Regions from separate parts of the Homo sapiens genome. Here regions 2 and 3 are each linked to region 1. The links are contacts of gene promoters, found by promoter capture Hi-C in blood cells and fetal thymus (Javierre and others, 2016). All regions are on one chromosome and are shown on one strand. Each heading gives the region's core, a stretch centred on a gene start or on the middle of the fragment in contact. The rest is flanking DNA. Distances are from core to core; before and after follow the strand shown.

Region 1 (3,629 bases), core at 343-2,842:
GACTACTGCATACAAGACCGCTCTTCCCTTTTCAAACCCAAACCAAGTACCCTCTCTCGTGTCTTCAGAGCTGCAGCCGCCCAGGTTGGGGCTGGGTAGCGGGTTGCCAAGGAAAATACGAGGCGCCAGCTAGCAGGCGGCTCCCAGCTCTACCCAGGAGTGCGCACACCCTGCACTCACCAGGGTGGCGGCAAGAAAAAGGGGGGAAGGCGGGGGAGGGGGGCACAACACCTTCCTTTGGGAGGCAGGAATGTGGGAAATGGTGGGTCTCTTAGGTTTCAGGGTGGGGGTGAATAGCCAGTCAGCCAGCCACCGATCCCAAAGGAGCGGATCAACTCTGAACCTGCCAAAAAAGACAGTCCGGTGCCCGGGAAATTTACAAGGTGAAACCGACTAGCTCAGCACTCGTGGGTGGCGCGGAGAAGTGGGGTGGCCGGCGACTCTCAGCTCCCGGGCGCGGGATCCCGCAGCGGCAGCAGGTGGGCTTACCCCCGCCCCTGCGGCCCCCCACTCCCTGGAGTCGCAGTGCCTGGTACCTTTCTGGCGCCGCGCTCCGCGAACTCGCGGGCGAGCTGACGCCCGATGCCTCTCCCGCCGCCGGTGATGAGGACGTTCTCCCGCGACAGGTCCCGCAGCTTGGCGGGCAGCACCAGTCCGACGGCTGCTTTCACCACCAGATAGATCATCTGTAGAGGGAACATCACCAGCGCGCCCAGCCGTTTCCACACCATCCTCCGCGCCGCGGAGCCGGGCAGGGGGCGAAACTCCCCGGGCCGAGCAATACAGGAATTAAAAAACACCCCGAACAATAAATAGTAAACCGAATAAGGAGGAGAGAGGCGTCCCACCTGGCCACTCTTGAAATCACCTCTTCCCAAATGCAAAGCACCGGGTGAGAAAAAGAAAAAAAAAAAAAAAAAAAAGATAAATTCTCCTCTGGGGGAGAAAAAGCGTCTCCTAAGGTTGGGACGGTAAAAGAGGTGGAGGGGGAAGCCGGAGGTGGAAAGTTCTAACAAGAAGTTTCTTGCCCCAGCAGCCGTTTCGGCTGGGGAATTCTCAGGTAATGTTTACAGACTGACAGAGGAGTTTAGGGAGGGGAAGAAAAAAAAAAAAAGGCACCAACCACACGCGCGCACCCTGCCTCGGTCCCGCGGTTTCAAAGTGCAAGATTAAAAAAAAAAAAAAAAAAAAAAAAAAAGCTGATTCCAAATTGTAGCGCCCCCACCCCCACCCCGTCTCCAGAAAAAAAAAAAAAAAAAAAGTGGGGGGAAAAAGTGCTTGGAGCTCCCAATTTCAGCCCGCGAAAGTCTCCCGACTCATTGCTATTCTTGGGCTCAGGAAATTGCTTAAACGCGATCTGATTGCCAGCAACGTGCAGGAGAAGTGGGGGGTCCGGGTGTCAGTTTCTTTACGTGCAGCGCTCGCCCTCGCGCGCGCTCGCTCGCTCCGGCTCCCTCCCTCCCTCTCTGTTCCAGCAGAGGCTGGGAGTTGCCGCTCGATCCAGCTCCCCTTCTCTCCCTTTTTAGCATTTATTGCCTTCTTTTTGTCCTTTCCAACTTGGAGAGGGTCCGGGTGTGGAGCGCGCGTGGATCGGACGCCTTGGTCTGCGCGGCCCTATTCATTCGCTCCCCGGGCAGCCGCGTCGCGGAGAGGGCGGCCCCTTTTTCCCCCATTTTTTCAATACCCCATTAAGTCTGATTGACAGTTAAAGTTGTTGGGAGGCTTCACTACCGTTCCTCTGAGTGGCTGCTGCGGCCTCCCCTCCCCCTGCGCCGTCGCGGGGAGCGCGCATAAGGCGCGCACTCGGGCTCGCCGGGACTCGCGCTCTCCCGGGACTGGCTCCCCTCTCTGCAAGCCGGGACTTGCCGCCGGTGTCCCTGAGGGCTCGCAGCTGTAACTCGAACACGCTGGAACCGACTCCGGCGAGCCGGCTGCCTTCTCGAGACGTTCCTCCTTGCCCGGGCCGCCCGCGGGCCAGGTGATCACCCCGAGTGTGGAGCAGGCCCGGGGGAGCTTGCGTATGCCTTGATCCAACCAGGTCACCCAGGGTTTTATTTCAGGTCATTTGGTCATCCTCGGCCTCCAGGTAGGATCAGGAAGCCACTCCTCACCTTTGCCCGGACCTCTTCTGTGTTCACGTAGAGTGGACTTTTAAAAGCCTGACCCAAGTGCCTCACGATGCTTAGGGGGAAGCCGCTGGGGAGCAGGACTTTGCTTTGAGGGGAGGGAGTAGTCAAGGTAAAGGAACCTCTGCTCCGAGTGCCAATAAAATCCCCACAAGATTAGCTGGGAGCATATTTATTGCTCATCTGAGCTAGAATTACCTTGACTGACACCAATTTCCTTAATAACAAAAGCCTGTAAACAAAACGTCCTATTCGTGCGCCCCTGTGCTGTGCAGCCAGCGTCTCCTGTCCTTGGGTCTCCCTGGACTGCCCTGGCGGGGCACCCACCTTCTAACCTCCTGCCCTTCCCGACCGGAATGTCTCCCCTGCTGGAGGGTGGGACCGAGCTATTTAGAGTTGTCTGTTGCAGGAAGTCTGGGAGGTGAGTCACTAAAAAGCAGCCCCAGTTCAAAGTGCTGATGGGACTTGCCTCCCGCCCCCCTGCACGTTCCCGGGGCCGGAGGAGCGAGAGCGAAGCAGGGAGCTGCCCTGTAATCTGGGGCAGCCGTTTCCAGCCCGCGACTTGTTCAGACGGCGATTCCTGGGCCTCACCCCCAGAGATTCTGATTCAGCAGGGCTGGGTGCGCTGGGATCGGTACTTTCAATGCTCCGCCTGGTGAGAAAGTCACTTCGAAAAACGCTGATCTGCGGGGAGGGGAGGCTGGGATTACCTCGTCACCTGCAAAGACCTAGTTCTGGGGAGAGGTTCTGCAGGGGAGGATCTTCCTTCTGGGTGAAAAGCCACTGGAAGAGCAAAAGGCAGGAGAGGCTTAGGATGAGCAACTGTCCTGCACTGAGGGCCTATATTCTGACACAGTCCTTCCCCTGACCTTGCAATCGGGGGACTGTTATCCCATCGTCCAGGTTACCCAGCCAGGAAGTGCAGGAGGGGGGATCCCAATCCAAACCTCTTCCCACTCTGACCAGACGGGAGGAGAGAAGTGGAGGATGGGGTTCAGCTAAGGGTTGCAGAGCAGAGACCCCCCCACCCCCCTAACGCCCCCAAGAGTCTGACCGAAGGGCGGACCAATGTCTCCATCAGACCCCAGGGCCGGAATCCATTGTGGTGACGGCCTCCTCTCATCTTCGAGGTCTGTAAAAATGGGAAAGCGATTCCAGCCTGGGAGTGACAGGCCTTTCCCACCCAGCAGCGGCTGGTGTCCGCCAGGCCTGCGAAGAAGCCTGGAAAGATCTGAAGACAGAACCAGGCTGCAAAAGCGGGCTTTGCTCATCTGTTGTCCTCGGAGCCGCCTGGTGGCCCAGATAGGATACTGCGCCTCCGAGCTGCCCGGCCTCCAACCCAGCGGCGTTCCTGCTAACTAGCCATGCTTTTCTTCCAGGCATTTCTCTCATGTAAGGTTAACACCCCAAGTCTAAAAGGGCTTGTGAAGATCATAGTCCTCCTCCCCCACCCCAAACACACTTTTATGGCTGGGGAAACTAAAGCCAAAAGATATGAAGCAA
Region 2 (3,882 bases), core at 380-2,879, 98 kb before region 1:
GGAGAGACTGCCTTGCATCTTCAAGTGGCCTGCGGGGCAGAGTCTCTAACTCCAGCTATATCCTTTGGAAGTGCAGTAAGTGCTTAAAGTAAACAAAGTTAGAAGAAAGGAAAAAGAAGAACACAGCAGTCTTAATTAAGCTTCCTCCAAATACTCCAGTTGGAACTTCAGAAGGATTTGACGCTGGAACAATTGCACTGCAGAGCTGCCTGCCCCACGCCCAGGAGCGGGGCCAACCCACTTGTCGCTGAGGGGAGCCAGATCGTGTTCTCCCACAGTCTTACCCAAGGAGCACGGCCAGCGTCAGCAGCTCCCAGGGGCTCATAAAACTTCACACCTCATGCTTATTCTGGTCTGACTCAAAAGCACAGAAAGGTCACGGGTACGTTTTGACTTGGAGGAAATGTGTGAATCTAGACCAACTTGGCTCTTGGAAACCCCGGGCAAGTGAGCCCCCAAGGGAGGGGGTGTGTGGGAGACGGGAGGGGGCGGTGCTGGGAGGGGGCGGGTGCTGAAACAGCTCCCAGGGCCACTTTAGAGGGAAAATTCCTGCCTTTTGGGCGTATTTTCCTAAGATGCTTAAGGGGTACACAGAGACTTCTGGGAAGCTTGGCAAAGCCTGCAGAAAGGCAACTCTCGATCTGTTCCATGGTTTGTCCACAGAGATCGAGCATCCCTAGGTGTTCCCAGACAACACACGTGAGTCTGATGCTACAGAACCTAACCCTCTGCCCCTCCAGCAACAGGGAGGCACTTCCAGCCCCTGCTCTTGAGCACGTACTGGGTGCCAGGCTCGGTACTGGATGCGTGGATGTACAGTGAATAGGGTGGCATTCTTGCTGCCCTCACTGAGCTAGCTATACTAGTGGTGGACGTCAGGGTGTGACAGGGAAGACTCAACCGAGAAAGAGGCAGATGGTCTGAGTCCAGCAAGAGTGAGGAGAGTTCATGAGGCACCGGGAAGAGGACAGTGTCCTTTTGGAGCCCTGAGGCAGGGACCTGCTTAGCACAGCTGAGTCCCAGGATCCCTGGACTAGCTGGAGCACAATGAGAGGAGGTGGGGGGCGCAGCCGGGCCAGGTCATGTTGGACTCTGTAAGCCACGCTAGGAGAGGCTATAAGCAGAGGGTTCCACAGTGAGGTTGGCATCGCAAAAGAAATACCTGTCTGGCTGCAGATGGAGACAGGGTAGCATGAGTTAGTAGTGGAGAGCAGCTGCAATAGCCCAGGCAAGAAATAAGGAGGCTTGGATGAGGATGGGGGCAGAGAGATGGAAGGGAGCCAATAGAATCCGGATATGTTTTTGAGGGAGAACAGAAAAACCAGTGAGATTGATTTCATGCACAGATTAGGGGCCAAGCACCGTGGCTTACGCCTGCAATCCCAACACTTTGGAAGATGGAGGCGGAAGGATCACCAGAGCCCAGGAGTTTGAAACTTCAAAACCAGCCTGGGCAACATAGCAAGACCCCATCTCTAAAAAAAAAAAAAAAAATTAGCTGGCCCTGGTGGCACACGCCTGTAGTCCCAGCTACTAAGGAGACCAAGACAGGAGAATTACTTGAGTCCTAAAGTCAAGGGTGCAGTGAGCCGTGATTGCACCACTGCACTCCACCTTGGGAGACAGAGCAAGACTTGTCTCAAAAAAAAAAAGAGAGAGAGATTAGGGAAAAAGAAATATCAAGGGTAGCTTCTGGGTTTCTAGCTTAAGCAACCAGTGATGTGTTTTAAACCATGGGGGCAGATTTGATGATAATGAGAGTAGAATTTGAGATGAGAAGGGGGCCTGGACAAGCCCTAAGGAGCTCCAGCATGTGATGGATGTGTGTAGGAGCACGAGCAAAGGAGATGGCGAAGGAGCAACTGGAGAGGTGGCTGGCAAAATAGAAGACAATGCTTCGGCCCGGCGCGGTGGCTCACGCCTGTAATCCCAGCACTTTGGGAGGCCGAGGTGGGCAGAACACGAGGTCAGGAGATCGAGACCATCCTGGCTAACACGGTGAAACCCCGTCTCTACTAAAAATACAAAAAAACATTAGCCAGGCGCAGTGGCAGGTGCCTGTAGTCCCAGCTACTCGGGAGGCTGAGGCAGGAGAATGACGTGAACCCGGAAGGTGGAGCTTGCAGTGAGCCGAGATCATGCCACTGTACTCCAGCCTGGGTGACAGAGTGAGACTCCATCTCAAAAAAAAAAAAGACAGTGCTTCGAGAAGGAAGACACAGTCAACTGGATTGCATGGCACTAAAACGCCAAGTAAGACATATGTTGTATTCAACAATGTAGAGGACATTGCCTGTAAGTTTTGTTGGAATTTCAGACAGAGCAAAGTTAGGCAGAATGAAGCACCAATGGCAGGTTAAGGAGAGATCGTGAGTATGACACAGTGGCCATGGAACTTTGGCCCATGACAGTGACTTACAAGGGCGGTCGGTGGGAGTAGGAGCCTGCGTGCTGGAGAGAGTGCAGATCCAGCCTGCAAACAATTAAAAAACAATAATAAAACTAGGACTAAAAGCCGGCTGCTTTTTACTATCACTGTGCTCTTGGCAATTCTAAACAAAATCTGGAGATTTGGGGTGGAGATAAAATTCTCCTCCCCTCAAAAATCTTTAGTGAGTTTAAATTCCAGTGAGTTTTAGTAGATATGTAGGCAAGCTTTAAATTAGTACACTGTAGTACTTTTCCTTTAGTAAATCTTGTACACCACGTGGACATTAATTCTGAGATCTGCCGGTTATGCAGTGGTTTGCCCACCAAGCGTGGACTCAGCTAACACACCTTCATTTCAAGAGAATGTTCTAATGGTTTGGAATTGTTCAGGCTTGCTCGGGGCACAGTGGAGTCCCTAACCCCCCTGTTCCAACATATTCCTGCATTTAAACAGATTTTAAGACAAAGCAATGGGACTTGAGTTGCTTCAATGCTGTCATTCTGTGTGACCACTTGCGGTTTTATTTTATTTATTTATTTTTTTTTGAGACGGAATTTCACTCCTGTTGCCAGGCTGGAGTGCCATGATGCGATCTCGGCTCACTGCAACCTCCACCTCCCGGGTTCAAGCATTCTCCTGCCTCAGCCTCCCATGTAGTTGAAATTGCAGGCATGCACCACCACATCCAGCTAATGTTTGTATTTTTAGTAGAGACGAGGTTTCACCATGTTGGCCGGGCTGGTCTCGAACTCCTGACCTCAAGCTGAGATTTGCCTGTCTCAGCCTCCCAGAGCGCTGGGATTACAGGTGTGAGCCACTGCACCCGACCTCACTTGCAGTTTATTTGTGTTTTAAAACTTAAAGAGTGAGGTCAGGCGCAGTAGCTCATGCCTGTAATCCCAACACTTTGGGAGGTCGGTCAAGGCAGGTGGATCGCCTGAGGTCAGGAGTTTGAGACCAGCCTGGCCAACATGGTGAAAACCCATGTCTACTAAAAAAACAAAAAAATTAGCTGGGCATGGTGGTGCGCACCTGTAATCCCAGCTACTCAGTAGGCTGAGGCAGGAAAATCGCTTGAACTCGGGAGGTAGAGGTTGCAGTGAGCTGAGATCGTGCCACTGCACTCCAGCCTGGGCGACAGAGAGAGACTCTGTCTCAAAAAAAAAACCTTAGAGAGTGAAACAGAATCCAGACTAGGAAGGGCAATCTTTTTGTCTGGTAAGTGCAAATTTTAGTTCATCCATGAAATGTAAAGAAAATTGTTATGTTAGCAGTATGATTTTATAATTGCCACAATTTCAGTGTACCTTTTGCTGATGATCTTCTTAAAATCCACTTATTAGTTACTGGAGAATTATTTAAATAGACATTTGTTATATAGGGCTATCACCAAAAGACCAAAATTCAAATCATTAAGTAAATATAAAAAATATATAGCAATGGCCGGATGC
Region 3 (3,460 bases), core at 50-2,549, 130 kb before region 1:
GCTACAGGTCCGAGATAGATGCAGCCCACAGCATGGTGGGAGCTACAGATCTGAGATAGATGCAGCCCATGGCATGGTGGGAGCTACAGGTCTGAGATAGATGCAGCCCACGGCCTGGTGGGAGCTACAGGTCCAAGATAGATGAAGCCCACGGCATGGTGGGAGCTACAGGTCCGAGATAGATGCAGCCCACGGCATGGTGGGAGCTACAGGTCCAAGACAGATGCAGCCCATGGCATGGTGGGAGCTACAGGTCCAAGACAGATGCAGCCCACGGCATGGTGGGCTTCTTGGGCTTGCAGACATTGTACTGCTGTGGATACCAGAGGGTTTTTCACCAATTCGTCTACTCTACTGCAGACAGTACTATTTAGACAGACTGCGGGGTTTCTCTTAGAGAAATGACAAATGTTTGATTAGGCCATTTGGTCAAGAACCCTGGTATCTTGTAGCTGTTATCAGTGACCAGTATTGGAAGAGGTAGTCTGGATTGACCTTCGTTCTCAGTCTAATTGTGCACACTCGAGCACAGTATATATCAGTAAGATACTTGATTAAAACAAAAGCCCTGGACACATACATAAAGTGAATGCAAGCACAACCCATCACACAACCCTTAAGGAAGATGGCAGCCATCAGTTGAATAAACATTCTATGATGCTAACGTCACATGTGTGACATACACTTTCTACTCACTTACTGATTGTTTTTGAACATCACTTGGCTGATAGACATTGGCCATGACAGACTTCTCAACCAAATTAAGCTGTGTAGGGGTATGTGTATGTGTGCACAGCATCTGTCTTAACTAACAGACCTATGACATAGTTACTCATCGTATAAGCTACGAATAATTAATGCCTGGCTAAATGTTGACTTTCAGGCTGAAAGGCAAGATCAACCAAGTGGAATTGGCTGGATCTCCCTGTGTCACCTTGTTTGGATTTACTGTTGATTTTTTTTTTAAAAGACATGAGTTGTTACTACTCTGATCATTGGTTTTGGGCCTCCGGTGTATATCAGATAGCAATGGCCAGATGCAGGCACACTCTGTATTGATTGCCCTCACTGGAAGGATATCTGCAGTGTATCAGCCACTGTATCCACAGCCCCTTCCCTGGGGGAAGAGTCCTCCATGCTGTACAGCAGACTCCCTGACATTTTCATAGAGTTCAAAGCTCAAGTTGGTTTGGTGCTGACATTCTGGATTAGCTGGTTGACTGGAAGGACTGCTTCTTTCTATACACTGTGAAATTTGTAAACCGCAGCAGCTGAGGGCTTAACATGGCCGACAAGCTCCAGCTGGCAGCAATTAAATATACCGCAGACCTTTGGCCAAACAAAGGTTTGTGGAGGCAGAGTTGCTGCATGTGCGCTGAACAGACTCCTAGGTTGAGTGTTGGTTCATAAGAGATGCTGTCGACTAAGGAGAGGTGAGTGGGTGGATTTTGGCCACCTCTTGTTCGGTGATCCATTGTCCCCAGAATTATTGTATCAAGACCCTGCCCAAGTAGCAGCAAAGGTGGTCAGAGGAAAGGAACAAAGCCACCAGGGAGGCCGCAGGCCTAACAGTGGTGGGCCTGAGTCGTTTAGACGTTGATCTGCTGCTGTAGCACCAATGGCAGGATCTGCAGCTACTCCACTTTTTTAAATTTATTAATTTATGTATTTATTGGGTACCACTATGCTGTAGGCTATAGGCTGAAAGGAGAAGATGGGAATGAAAAAACAATAAGAAGACATTTAATATCCATTCAAGCAGCAAAGATTCAAGAGTCTAGACCAGTGCTATCCAAAATACAATTTAAATTTAAAATTCAGTCCTTTAGTTACACTGGCCACATTTCACATGCTCAGTAGCCACACGTGGTCAGTAGCTATGTATTGGACAGTGCTGTCCTAGACAATACCAAGTGTTGGATATAGATCGCTAGGGCCCCTTAAATGCCTCATTGGCAGGAATGTAAAAATGGTTCAGCCACTTCGAACGCAGTTTGGATTATCTTGTTAAGTGAACGTTTATATCTTGTGAGCCAGCAAATTCCCCCTAGATAGATTCTCAAAGTTCACCAGGAAACACGTACAGGAATGTTCATAATAGCATCATTTGTAATAGCAGAACCTGGAAGAAACCCATGTGCCATCAACAGGAAGATGGATATATCATGGGATAGTCATACAATGGAATATGAACAAAGCAGAGACATGGTGAATTAATCATGGCTACACACAAAAGAATACCTGAATCTTAGCAATGTGACAGCGACATCCTTTTTCAAAAGCCCAAAACTAAACCCAAAGAACATAACAAGAATGTACTGGAGCATCCTTTGAAATGTGGTAAGGCTACATAAAAAAGAAAAGCACAGGAATGAGAAACACAAGATTCAGAACAGCGGCTGCCTTAGTTAAAGGAGGAACAGGGATTTGGGGTGGCAGAAGACCAACTTGTGGTCCACGATTGAGTGATGGAGTTTTTTTTTTTTTGCTTTCACAGATGTTTATTTCAAATAAATAAAGAGAGCCCAATGATGAGAGTGGGCCTTGAACTGAGGATAATAAGCCCAGTCCTAAAGACCAGTTATTAAAAAAAAAAAAAAAAAAGGACTGGCCGGGTGCGGTGGCTCACGCCTGTAATGCCAGCACTTTGGGAGGCCGAGGCGGGTGGATCACGAGGTCAGGAGACCATCGTGGCTAACACGGTGAAACCCCGTCTCTAATAAAAATATAAAAAAATTAGCTGGGCATGGTGGCGGGCGCCTCTAATCCCAGCTACTCGGGAGGCTGAGGCAGGAGAATGGCATGAACCTGGGAGGCAGAGCTTGCAGTGAGCCAAGATTGCACCATTGCACTCCAGCCTGGGTGACAGAGCGAGACTCCATCTCAAAAAAAAAAAAAAAAAAAGACTAGAGTCCTTTCCCTCCAGGTGCTCATAGGCTTACTGGAACATACAGGAAAGTCACTTAAAAATGGACACACTGTCACTGAGCATGAACAAATGTAGGACTGCTGTTACATGGTCATACTCGTTTAAAAGGCCTACTTGAACGTACAGTGTCACATCAACAGATGAAGAAAACAGCGTCGTCACACAGTGGCCTGGGCTGAAGAACTTCACTTTAAACTTTTTGCTGGCTTACGAGGTTTGAAAACACTAGCTTACTGTTAGCTTTTTACATTATTTTAGTAATTCTTTAAGATTGGAACTAAATTTGTTCATATGCAGTGACTTCAAATACTCTCCCCCTACCCACAGCCTACCAACTTGGACCTGAGAAGGTAAATTTTTAGTTGAGTTTTAGAGAAGAAAGAAGAGTTTTTCAGGCACTGACATTGATGAGGTGATACAGGAGTGGGGGGAAAATTCCTTTAATCCAGCTTTCTGCTTCTAGGAAGAGTATGCCTTCTGGAAGTCCTTGTATTCATAAGACTGTAACAGAAGATGTTTCCTTTTAGGGTA

What was found. The method cuts DNA at HindIII sites, captures the fragments that hold promoters and counts their contacts. A CHiCAGO score of 5 or more calls a contact.
Region 2: a contact is called between a fragment that was not itself captured here and the fragment with the promoter of DHRS3 in region 1, in 1 of 17 cell types (activated CD4 T cells). The highest score is 6.4, in activated CD4 T cells.
Region 3: a contact is called between a fragment that was not itself captured here and the fragment with the promoter of DHRS3 in region 1, in 2 of 17 cell types (activated CD4 T cells and non-activated CD4 T cells). The highest score is 5.6, in activated CD4 T cells.

Annotation. Positions count from the first base shown.
Region 1 is chr1:12,616,618-12,620,246 of GRCh38, forward strand. DHRS3 (dehydrogenase/reductase 3) reads right to left here and starts at 1,593. Exons shown (of 6, transcript NM_004753.7): 1 at 537-1,593. The coding sequence starts at 731. RefSeq lists enhancers at 1,218-1,849, 1,850-2,481, 2,482-3,113 and a silencer at 3,349-3,600. The HindIII fragment of the contact is 18,116 bases long and covers 1-3,629 here.
Region 2 is chr1:12,518,797-12,522,678 of GRCh38, forward strand. No RefSeq gene overlaps it. Among named protein-coding and RNA genes, the nearest start is that of LINC02766, 4.8 kb to the right of the region's middle. The HindIII fragment of the contact is 2,047 bases long and covers 607-2,653 here.
Region 3 is chr1:12,490,598-12,494,057 of GRCh38, forward strand. All of the region lies in intron 67 of VPS13D (vacuolar protein sorting 13 homolog D), which reads left to right. Among named protein-coding and RNA genes, the nearest start is that of SNORA59A, 15 kb to the right of the region's middle. The HindIII fragment of the contact is 5,953 bases long and covers 1-3,460 here.